3 separate regions of the Homo sapiens genome follow, and regions 2 and 3 are each linked to region 1. Evidence: promoter capture Hi-C in human tissues and cell types (Jung and others, 2019). All regions are on one chromosome and are shown on one strand. Each heading gives the region's core, a stretch centred on a gene start or on the middle of the fragment in contact. The rest is flanking DNA. Distances are from core to core; before and after follow the strand shown.

Region 1 (3,972 bases), core at 697-3,196:
TCAAGCCTTTATTATTGTAGATTGAAAGAAGTTTATATACAGGAAATATTTCCAGCAAAACACTCACCAAATGGCCTTCGAATCAGGGGCCCTCCACCTCCCAGCCCCACAATCAGCAGCTCTGCCTAGGACTCCCCTCACTTGGGGACCTCAGGCTCTCCCCCCACCTCTCTTTCCCCGGACTCCATCACCCCAACGTCATTCCCCAGGAGTCTCAGCTTTTTCTCTCTCCCTGGGGCGCTGCGAACCTCGCCAATGCCTCTCAAGCTATCTTCCTCTGGTCCCAAAGCAGACACCCCAACTTCCCTCCCATTTAAGGTGGTTACCTCACGGAAACCCAGAGCACCCTCCCCCTCAAGGTTTAGGTGCTGCTTTGAGGCCCCTGCAATTCAGAACTAGCTCGTGGTCAAGACCAGTTAGAGATAGTTCGTCATCAGCAGTGGGGCTCCTGTGCACCCAAAACAAGCGGGGGAAACTACCCTGCCCACCCCTCCCCATCCACGACATCACTTCCCCTACCAGGGACAGGAAACAGACACAAAAGCAACAGGGAACCCCCTCTCCGCGCGCGACAGGTGGGTGCCAGGCAACTAGCTCAGCTGAGCTGAGAGTCTCCTGGAACCCAGCTGCGCTCAGGGCGCGCGGGCGTGGCCAAGGTCTCTGTGCAGCTGCGGGAAGCACCGGGCCAAAGCACTTGGCTGAGGGCACGCTGGGGAGGGGGTGTAAGAAAATGCTGTAGAGGCAAAGTCCTGGGGGCACACGGACAAGGGCAAGCCATATCCCGCGCTCAAAAGAGGATTTCCAGTGAGCCAGGCAGGTGTGAATGAGACAGTTACAGAAGCAGAGTCCCAGGGAGGTAGGGGAGATTGTTCATGTGGCTGAGGGTGCAGACTCAGTCTGAAATGGTGGCTCAGCACATCAGTGTCACTGGGGCCTCGCCAAGCGTGACTTGGTTTGAGGCGCTTGCACGTGGGCTTCGAAGGCTCGAAGGCCCAGCCCACCAAGTTCAGTCAATTGTCCGTTGGATGTTTACACCCTCCGGGGCCGAGCGCCGTGCAGTTGCTCATCATAGCGTTCCAACCAAGTGCGCAGCTCAGAGACCTGGTAGCCGTCGGGGCCACGGCCGCCCTGGTACATAATAGTGCCACTCTGGATGACATAGAGACGCTCGAAGTAGGCGCCATAGGCCGAGCTGCTGGAGTTGGCCATGGTGTCGAGGACCAGAGCGCAGCCGGGTGCACCTTGCTGCAGTACCCTCGCTGCGCTGACCCGGTCCTCCAGGCTCCGGTGCTGTGGGATGATGTAGGGAGAGTCCGTGGTGACCCAGCCGTCGGAGGGGTGCGCTTCCTCGATGTAGATGATGAGGAAGTCGACGTCGCGCTGGTACTTAGTGACCAGGCGCTGGAAGGCGCTCATGCGCGCCATGAACGGTGGTCAGGTGCAGCTGCCGAAATTGAGAACCAGCGGGCGGTTCCCTTGCGCGTAGTCGAGGATGTGCTGGCTCTGGAAGCCGTCGGGCAGAACCACCTCGGAGTTGGGCGCCGGACCGCCCTCGTGCGCCTGCTTGAAGAAATCCAACTTCTGGCCATGCCACACCGCCTTGAGCGACGCCAGGGTGCACAGGCGGTTGTCGTCGGACACGCAGATGGGCGGGTCATCGGGAGGCACCTCCTCGCCTTCACTGTTGAGCTCCACTTCGGGCTCGGGCTGCCCCCGGCGGCGGCGGCCCAGGAAATGCTTGCGGATACACAAGAAATCGAGAAGCCAGAGCATGAAGGCCGTGCCGAGGAAGCGCGGGAAGAGCACGAGGCACGAGGCGGTCTGGGCGCAGAGCCTCAAGGAGTGAAGCAGCAGGGAGCGGAGCATGGTGGCTGCAGGCCCCGAAGCCCCCTGGGACCCCTCGCCCTCTCCGACCACCAACCGCGACGTGGCCTGGCGAGGCATCTGGGCTTCAGCAGTGCAGGGAGTTCAATTTATAGCGGAGGCTTCAATTGGCGGGAGACTCCACCTCCGGCCCGGCCCGCCCCCTTGCAACTTGAGCCCGGAGGGATCACCCAGCAGCGCGGCCAATGCCCTAGAAATCTTGGGCTGAGGGCGGGCGCAGGCGGGCGGAGGGCGGAGCGGCCGGGCCTGGGGCCGGTGGGGGCGGGCCCGGGCCCCGCAGCCAGCTCTCGGGGGCGGGGGACTCCGGCAGCCGCTGCCGCTGGGGACCGGGAGCCCGACCAGGGACCTGGGCGTCCGCTGGGGAGGTCCTCCAGCTGGCGCGAGCGCTGCGCGCCGCCCTGGTCCCCGCCGCCTGGCTCCGGCCCGCGCCCCCCTCGCCGCGCACCTGAGCCGAGCTCCCCGGCGGCCGCCGAGCCGCGCCGGAGCTCCGGTTCGCTTCCCGCGCGCCGCCGCCAACGCCGCCCACGCCGCTGCCGCTCGTGCGGGGCCGCTGCCCAGGTGCCGCGGGAGGCCGGGTCCGCGGCCGCCGCTTCGGTGGCCCCGGCTCCCGCCCCACCGAGGACGCGGGCCAGCGAGGAGGCAACTTTGCGTTCCCGCCGCCTTCCTGGCTCGCCCGCGGGCGCCGCTCGCCTGCCGGAGCCCGCCCGCCCGCCTCCCGCGCGCGCTCACACTCGCGCCTCGCACACGGCCGCCCCCCGCACCGCCCCGCCACGCACACCGCGCTCCGCGCCCCCCGCCGCTGCCCGAGGCTGCCGCGCGCCGCCCCAGCCCGCGCCGCCCTGGCCGCGCCCGCCCCGTCCCATCTCGTTCCAGCGGGGCGCCGCGGTTCCTGGGTCAGCGGCCGCCGGGGCCGGGCTGAGAGGTGCGGAGGGCAGAGCCCGCGGGCGGGTTACCGCCGGGCGCCGGAGACCGGAGAGCTGGGGAAAGCGGCGCCGGCCCTGCGCCCCCAGCCGACCCGGGCGCGGGGCGCCACGGGCGTGGGGCGCGGGGCAGCGGGCGCGGGGCGGCGCCGGCCCCGGGCGGCTCTCCCACTAGGGGTAGCTGTTGCCTGAACGCCGGAGCGCTCCCCTCTCGCCGCTTGCCTCGCCCAGCGCAGCCCCGGCCGCTGGGCGCACCCGTCCCGTTCGTCCCCGGACGTTGCTCTCTACCCCGGGAACGTCGAGACTGGAGCGCCCGAACTGAGCCACCTTCGCGGACCCCGAGAGCGGCGGCGCGACTCACCGCGGAGGCGCCCGGACGCGTCAAGTGCGTACTTTCAACCGTAAATGGGTGCTGAGCGTTTAGGGGTGCGGGGCAACTCCCTAACTCGTGGGGCCCTGGCCGGCCCTGCCGCGGCGTCCGAGACCTTCTGATCCCTCGCTGCGCGCGGCGCGGGGTTGGCGACTTGGGCTCAGGGGCGGCGGGGCGGGGAGGTGCCTTGACCTAGGGACCCAGAGGCCGGGAGCAAGTCTCCTTTCGCCTTGGACTGCAGTGTCCCCCAGGGCAAGGCCTGAACCAGGTCGCGAGGGTCTGTCTCCCGTCTGGGGAGCTGAACTGCCCGAGACACTGTCGCAGTCGCGGGGACTTGTCTGGAGCGGCGGGGTCTGAGCCCAAGTCGGAAGCCGCCGCCGCCGCCAGCGTCCCGTGCGCCTGCCGCCCCGGGACCAGCCGCGAAACTTCTTCTCGGGACGGAGACAGCGCTCGCCGCCCGGGCCGAGGTAGGAGCTGGCTGGGCTCGGTAGAGCGCGGGCGAATCGCTTTCGGCAGCGAAGGAACGTGTCGGGAGAAGCCAACTGCAGGACCAGGGCCCCAGCGGGCGCGCAGAGACGCCTGCCTTGGGCGGAGGTCCCCCCCTCCGGTTTTCGTGGCTCTGGTAGGGCCCTCTGTCCCGTGAGCTCCTCACTGGACCTGAGGCTACAGGCTTCAGCAGGTCAAGCGCCCGAGTGTGCCTGGAGGATTGGCGGCGGGGTGGCATGAGAAGGTGGCCCCTCTTCTCCATCTCCCAGTCAGGCGATTTCTCTGCTGTCTGGGGCAGGGGCGCACACCCCA
Region 2 (3,972 bases), core at 516-3,015, 220 kb after region 1:
AAGCCAAGTGGCCCTGGGATTTTCTCTGTGAGAAGATTTTAAACAGCAAATTACATTTCTTTAATAGATATGAAGCTGGGCTATTTGGATAACCTGTTCTTGAGTGAGATCTGGCAGTTCATGTCTTTCAAGGACTTTTTCCATTTTATTGAAATTATTGAGTTTATTTATAGAAAGTTGCTCATAATATTCTCTCATAGTCATTTTATTGTCTGCAGTATTTTCAGTGATATCCTTTTTCTCTCTTATTTCTGATATTGGCAATTTGCTTTTTTCTCTTTCTTTTTCCAGATCTGTCTGGAGAGTGGTTTATCAATTTGATCCTTTTTTTTTTTTTTAAAGAGATGAGGTCTCACTATTTTTCCCAGGCTGGTCTCGAGCTCCTGAGCTCAAGTAATCCTCCTGCCCTGGCCTCCCAAAATGCTAGGATGACAAGCGTAAGTCACCATGCCCAGCCTTTTGCTACATATATTTTTTAAATAGAGGTTGCTTTAGGACTTTCAGTATAAATCTTAAATTTATAACAGTCTGTCTTTGAGTAATATTAGACTACCTCCCATACAGCACAACCATCTTACCAAGCTGTACTCCTGTTTCTCCCTTTCCAGCCTTTGTGCTATTGCTGTTATGCCTTTCATTTCTTCATATACTTTAAGCCTCATTATTAAGCTTACTTGAAATAGTCAATTATCTTTTAAAGAGATTTTTTTTTAAATAAGAGAAAATGCCTTTTATATTTATTCAATATGGACCATTGCTGGTGCTCTTCGTTTCTTTGCATACATCTAGATTTCTATCTGTTAACATTTGTCTTCTGCTCAAAGGGCTTACTTGACCATTTCTTGCAAGTGAAGGTCTGCTGGCAATGGACTTCTTCAGCTTTTGTGTATCTGAAAAGGTCTTCCTTTTTGCCTTTATTTTTGAAAGATAATTTTTCTTGGTGGGTAAATAATTCTAGATGGACAGTTGTTTTCACTTTCAGATGTTGCTGTATTATCTTTTGGCATACTTTGTTTCTGATAAGAATTTGGCTCTCATTCTTACATTTGTTCTTCTGTACATAAAGCATTTCTCCCTCCCTTATGCTGAATGCTTTTAAAGTTTTCTCTATATCACTGCTTTTGGGCAATTTTACTATGATGTACAGTGGTTGAGGTTCTTCAAACTTCTTGTATCTGTGGGTTTATAGTTTTTATAGAATTTGGAAACATTTCAATCATAATTTCTTCAATTTTTTCCCATCTGCCTCTCCTTCAGGGACTCCAATTACATGTAGATTGGGACATTTGAATTTGTCCCAGCAATGCTAATTCTCTGGTCAGTCTCCCCTTCCCCCATCTTTTTACTTTCTTTATTTTATTTTGTGTGGCTTGCATTTCTGTGTCTTCAGGTACACTACATTTTTTTTTCTATAGTGTAATCTACACTTCATCCTAAGCTTTAAAAAAAACTCTATCAATTCAATTTGTGTCTTCTTTTCTACAACTTCCAATGCCTCTTTTTCAATATTCTTATGTTCTCCTCTACCTTCTTTACATACAAAATATAACTTTTTAACATCTTTGTCGACTAACTCTACATACAAAATATGATAACTTTTTAACATCTTTGTCCACTAACTCTATCATCTGTGTCATTTCTGGGTCTGTTTCTATTGATTGATATTCCTGATTCTGGGTCATATTTTTCTATTACTTTGCATTCTTTTCCATTGGATGCCAGCATTGTACATTTTATTTTGTAGGTGCCGGATAACTTTATATTCCTTTACATGTTCTTGAGTGTTATCCTTGGAAGCCATTGTGTTACTTGGAAACAGCCTGATCCTTTTTGAGGTTTACTTTAAAGCGTTGTCAGGGGAAACCAGGATGGCCATTGGTGTAGGGATGATTTTACTTTGCTCTTGTGGCAATAGCCTTCTGAGTACTCTACCTGATGCCTTGGGTATTACAAAGTTTCTCTACTTGGACTGGTGAGAACACAATCTGTTCCTGGCCCACTGAGACTCACACATTTTTCTGCCTGTTCCTTTCTGGTGGGAGTTTCCTGGCCTTGGTAGTTGTCTTGCAGGCATACATCCATCAGTACTCCATGGAAGTCTCCAGGGGAAGCCTCGTTGAACTCTGCCCTACAATTCTAGCTGCCTGGGCCTCCCTGGGTTCTCAGCTCTGTCTCCTCCTTTGAGGGAACAGCAGGCTCTGTTTGGGTCAGCTTTCCCTGGAACGTAGCCTGGAAAGGATTTCTAGGTGGTAAGTGAGGACCGTGGTAAGGCTTGCCCATTTGTTTCCCTTCTTTAAAGGATCTCTGCTCTGTGTGGCCTGTTGTTCTGTGTCCAAAAATCATTGTCTTTTTTTTTTTTATAGTTGTTTTGTCTGGTTGTTTGGTTGTTTAGTGTGGGAGGGCAAAGCTAGTTCCTGTGACTGCATCATGGTCAGAAACAGAAATTCTGCCTATGGACAGAGCATGGTGGCTCACACCTGTAATTCCAGCTCTTCGGGAGGCCAAGGCAGGTGGATCACTTGAGGCCAGGAGTTTGAGACCAGGCTGGCCAACATGGTGAAATCCCATCTGTAATAAAAATACAAAAACTAGCCAGGCCTGATGGTGGGCACCTGTAGTCCAAGCTACTCGGGAGGCTGAGGCGGGAGAATCACTTAAACCCAGGAGGCAGAGGTGGCAGTGAGTCGAGATTGCACCACTGCACTCCAGCCTGGGTGACTCTGTCTCAAAAAAAAAAAAAAGAAAAGAAAGAAATTTTACCTATATATTTTTTTATTGTGGTAAAATATACAGAACATGAAAGTTACTATCTTAGCCATTTTTATGTGTACAGTTGTGTGGCATTATGTACATTCACATTGTGGTGCAACCATCACCATCATCCACTCTAGAACATGTTTATCCTTCCAAGTTAAAACTATGTCCCCATTAAACAAGAACACCCAATTTCTACCTTCCACCCAGCTCCTGATAACCACCATTCTACTTTCTTAATCTTGGAATAGTACAGTATTTGTCCTCTTGTGTGTGGCTTATTTTATTTAGAATAACATCTTTAAGATTCACTCATGTTGTAATATTGTGTCAAATTTTCCTTCCTTCTTCAAATGTTTAATTGACACATAAGAATTGTACATATTTATGGGGTAGATGTGATATTTCGATATGTGTATACAATGTGTAATGAAAAGCGAGGTAACTAGTATATCTATCACCTCAAACATTTACCATTTCTTTGTATTGGGAGCATTCAAAATCTTCTGGCTGAATAATATTCCACTGTATGGATGTACCACGTTTTGTTTACCCTTTCATCTGTTGATGGGCACTTGGTTGTTTCTACCTTTTTGTTGTGAAGAAAGCTGCTATGAACACAGGTGTACATATATCTATGTGAGTTCTTTTCTGTTCTTTTTGCTATCTATCCAGAAGTGGAATTGCTAGATCATATAATAATTATATTATATGTCAACTATTTTGAGGAAGTGCCATACTGCTCTCCACAGTGGCTGTACCATTTTACATTCCCACTAGCAATGCACAAAGATTCCAGTTTCTCCATGCCCTCTTCAATACTTCTTTTATGTTTTTTGATCGTAGCCATTCTAATGGGTGTGAAGTATCTGCACTGCAATCTTTAAACTTTGTTCTGAGAACACAAAAGAATGGGCTCCCGGTCAAGCAGGGCTGGGGGATGGTGGGCAGGGCACTTTCCCAGGGTTGGGGTGATTGGAGCTGAGTCCAGCACTCTGCAACATTGCTTTAAATTTACTCAACTGTGAACTCCCTGCAGCCATTGCTGTACCCAGTGCCCATCACAATGCCCAGCAAGCCCTGAGTGCTTGCTTGGTTGGCAGACATGGCAGTGTAGACAGCCGACGGCTTTGGAAACTGATTCAGTGTGGCTGCAGCAAAGGAGGTGGAAGGGGGAGACACGGGATGAGGCTGGAAGGTGTGGGGGAAGGTCACACT
Region 3 (3,972 bases), core at 742-3,241, 190 kb after region 1:
GGCTAGTTTTTTGTACTTTCAGTAGAAACGGGGTTTCTCCATGTTGGTCAGGTTGGTCTCGAACTCCCGACCTCAAGTGATCCACCTGCCTCAGCCTCCCAAAGTGCTGGGATTTACAGGTGTGAGTCACTGCTCCCGGTCTCATTATGCTTTAATTTTTTGCAGTACGTCTTAACTCCCCACTGTAGAAAATGAGGTGAGTGGCTTCCTTACACCACTCCATTCCTCCTTTCTCAGTCTACCTATTTTTGTTGCATATATTATTTTTGCTTTGCTATGTGTGCAGGCTTGGATTCTTCAAGAATAAAGGGAAGCGCAAAGGTTATTAGGGAGTAACACTTGTGGAAGAAAAGGGCAGGGAAAGCGGTCAGCCTCTGATGCAGACCAGGAAACTCTGCCAGTCCAGTGAGAGGCTCCAGAGCAAAGACTGTCCCTCAGAGGAGACCCACTTTGGGTGGAACAGACCAGGCCCCTCCATCGCTGACTTGCTCAGTCACTGGCTGGGGGCTGCCCCAAGAAGAGCATGACTTTGGCTCAGAAGCTGAGAGTTAACAGCTGGAGGCTGTTGCCTAACCCCTTACAGCTGGATCCTGAAGTCGGGATCCCCCATTAGGTCCTGAAAGGGGTCTGAGAGGAGCACCTCCCTGTCTGCTGCACCGGAGTTTATAATATTTACCATCAGCAAAGCATAATTCTCCATTGTATGATTTCTGCTATAGTTGCAAACATCTGCATTGCTCACTGACACCTCTTTACCAAGGCTCACCTATACTAGAGTTTTTAAAATTTTACTCATCTTTTGCTTAGCTGGATTATTGTTTCAGTGTTTCCTTTGAGAAGGATTCATAGGTTTTATATTACTGAATTCTTTAATGTTTGAGAATGCTTGCCTTTTGTTTTCTTCTTGAAGGGTAATTTGGCAAAGTAAGAAATTGCTCTGTTGTCTTCTATTGCTGAATGATTCTGTGATGTCTGAGATTAACAGATTTTTTCCACCTTGTAAGTTATTTGCTTTTTTCTAGTTTTATGCTTAAATAATGAGCTCTTTGACATTGATTGGTGCTTAGTAACAACCAGGGTATATCTGAAGCCTTCCTGGTATATTAGTAATCTTTCAATTGGTATATCCACTTTTTCCTTCACTTCAGGAAAAATGTCTTGTGTTATATCTTGGAATAATGTCTTCTATTCCATTTAGTGAGTTGTCTGCTTGAGGGACATTTGTTTTCCTTCGTTTGAATGCCCTGCCTGTCCTCCATATCCATGATCTTCTCTTTAATCACTCCCAACTCTTTATTTTTTTTCTTCTGCATTTCCGGTCATGACCTCAGATCATAACTCCATGTCATTAATTTAGTTTCCAAGTGTCAGATCTCTTCTTGTTTGTAATTTATTTATTTGATTTATAAATTGGCTCTAAGGTTTCTTAGCTGGTCAATATTATTCTTTTATTTTATACTTGCACCTTTTGGTTTTTGTATAGTTGTATTCATATATATATATATATGAGTAGTATTCATATATACAAATGTATACATATATATTATATGTAGATATAGATATATTCAAACATATGCATACGTATCTATGTATCTAATTTATCTATCTAATCTATCTGTCTATATATCTAATTTATCTGTATCTATCTGCCTATCATCTATCTGTCTGCCTATCTATCATCTATCTGTCATCTATCTGTCTATCCATCATCTATCTATCTGCCTATCATCTATCTGTCTATCTATCTCTCTATGTATCTATGTATCTCTCTATGTATCTATGTATCTATCTGTCTATCTATCTATCTATCATCTATCTATCATCTATCTATGTATCTATGTATCTCTCTATGTATCTATGTATGTATGTATCTATCTATCTATCTCTCTATCTCTCTATCTATGTATCTGTCTGTCTGTCTATCTATCTATCTATTCAGCCAGCCATTCATTCTTTGGTATGCAGCACTCACAGGGAATCTGATCCTGCGTTTTCTCCCAGACTTTATTCTTCAACGATTTCTCTCATTCCCTTCCTCTTTGTTCTCTCTCCTCCCTTCCCATCCTTCTTTGGGTAGTACATGTGCATTTATCGCCTTGCTATTTTTCATTCTTTTCATGATATATGGCAGAGGCAGCTCCATCTAGCTTTCCTATTTGTGCGATGCATTCTGTGATACGTTTCCCCATCTTACCGGGGGCTAGTTTGTCATTCTCTCCTTGGGCTGTACTTTGAAGACTACTCTCAATCAGATATCCTATTGTCTAAGTTTTCAGGGAGTGAGGGGTAGCGGAGGTGGTCCCTGTTGGACACCTCCCTTGAGTGTTCTGTCCCAGGACCACTTCACTCAGCTGTGGGCATGTTCTCCCTCCCACAGGCCACAAATTGTTATTCTAACTCAGCACAGTGCCCTGGTGGACTTGCCAGATAAAATACAGGATGCCCAGTTGAATTTGAATTTCAGATAAACAATGCATAATTTTTTAAGTATAAGTATGTCCCCAAGGGGACATTTTGGCACCTTCTCATGTGCTAAATCTGGCAGCCTCACGCCCTGGAAAATGCCAAATGTGTTTCCCTTGCTGAGCTCCCATTGTGAAGTGCAGGAACTTCTACTCCTGAGAGCTCTAACTTCACTTTTGCCTGGCTGTCCCTGCAGCCCTGCCCCATAGGCCGCCCACTGCAGGAGTTCTGGGAGAATTCTCAGTCTCAATTTCTTTCCTTAGGAAAGCTTCCAGGGGTTGAGGGTGGGGTTAGGAATCACACGACCTTGTGCCAAACCAGCATCTCCTGCTTTTCCCTTGGCTGCCCTTTTTCATGTTTATGGCACAAGGTGGTTATTGCTAGTGAATTTTGCTCTAATGAATTCTTTTCCTTTGGTTGGGTCTTGGAGGAGGAGGAGGAGTCTGTGGTTCTTCTTCCTCCTGCCATCTGCATCTGGCAGCGCTCTTCTGTAATTGTTTATTCATTCACCGAATACTTACTGAGTGCCTACTGTTCAATGTCTGCCGTCGAGGGAAAGTAGATGCAGCAATTATCACCCTGTGACAAGGCTGTTATAGACACTAGTGAAGGAAGTTGCGTTCTGCAGTTGATTTTGGCTGCGTGGGTTCCTGTCCTGTCTTCCCGTTAGACAGAGAGCTCCTTCAAGGCAGGAATCGGGTGTCGGGCATCTCAGTCCTTGTCTGGAGGGGTGGTCAGTGTTTGTTGCACAGACGACGGAATGAGTGAATGGGATGCCAGGTAAAAGGAGGGCTGTCTGGGCACAGTAAGCGTATTAGTGCCTTGATCCTCCGACTGCCAGAAACAAAGATAGAGACAGCTTGGCTCTGCCCTTAGTCACGCGGTGGTTCAAGACAGGGTGTCGCTAATCACTAACTGAGCATTCCAGGTCTGGTTTAGTCTTCGTTGTCATAAATTAATGGTGCATTTGTTGAATGAATCTAGAAAAGAGCTGTCAAGGTAAAGGTTTAAAAGGAGGAAAACTTTACTAGGCAGTGGAGGTTCAGGATCAATGAGACCCAGCGGTGGTTCTAAGCGGCATTTGTCATCTGGTAGGGAAGACAGACAGGCAAGCCCACACGCGGCAGGAGGGTCGGTGTGGAACGCAGGAACTGAGTGGACTGTGGGCCACGTGGGAAGCTGAGGGCAGCCCGGCCGCAGCAGCGGGGCAAAGGCAGTGAATGCTGAAAAGCAGGGTCTACCTGAGAGGTCAGTGAGCTCCGAAGGAGCGTGGGAGGCAGATGAAGCTGTCCGCAGACAGCAGATGGTGAAGAGGCCTGTGAGCCATGTTAGGGGTTGGACTGAAGTCCACGCGGAGTCCTGGACAGGTGGGAATACAGGTAACAGGGCCCTCCTGCTGCCGCCTCCGCCAGGGAGCACGAACAGAACTGCCCAGAGCCAGGCACACTCCACTCTCCTGACAATCACCAATCTGTTCACGGCAACCCTTCCGTGGCAAAATCCTGACCC

Evidence for each region. The method cuts DNA at HindIII sites, captures the fragments that hold promoters and counts their contacts. A contact is called where the count stands out against the background at its distance.
Region 2: a contact is called between a fragment that was not itself captured here and the fragment with the promoter of DIO3 in region 1, in 3 of the 25 tissues and cell types used here (H1 embryonic stem cells, IMR-90 fibroblasts and mesendoderm cells).
Region 3: a contact is called between a fragment that was not itself captured here and the fragment with the promoter of DIO3 in region 1, in 2 of the 25 tissues and cell types used here (H1 embryonic stem cells and IMR-90 fibroblasts).

The regions. Positions count from the first base shown.
Region 1 is chr14:101,559,469-101,563,440 of GRCh38, reverse strand. DIO3 (iodothyronine deiodinase 3) reads right to left here and starts at 1,946. Exons shown (of 1, transcript NM_001362.4): 1 at 1-1,946. The coding sequence starts at 1,944. The coding sequence ends at 1,030. DIO3OS (DIO3 opposite strand upstream RNA) reads left to right here and starts at 3,019. Exons shown (of 2, transcript NR_152588.1): 1 at 3,019-3,189. MIR1247 (microRNA 1247) reads left to right here and starts at 3,019; the gene lies at 3,019-3,154. The HindIII fragment of the contact is 20,870 bases long and covers 1-3,972 here.
Region 2 is chr14:101,341,776-101,345,747 of GRCh38, reverse strand. No RefSeq gene overlaps it. Among named protein-coding and RNA genes, the nearest start is that of LINC00524, 64 kb to the left of the region's middle. The HindIII fragment of the contact is 3,603 bases long and covers 1-3,566 here.
Region 3 is chr14:101,373,784-101,377,755 of GRCh38, reverse strand. No RefSeq gene overlaps it. Among named protein-coding and RNA genes, the nearest start is that of LINC00524, 32 kb to the left of the region's middle. The HindIII fragment of the contact is 6,318 bases long and covers 1-3,972 here.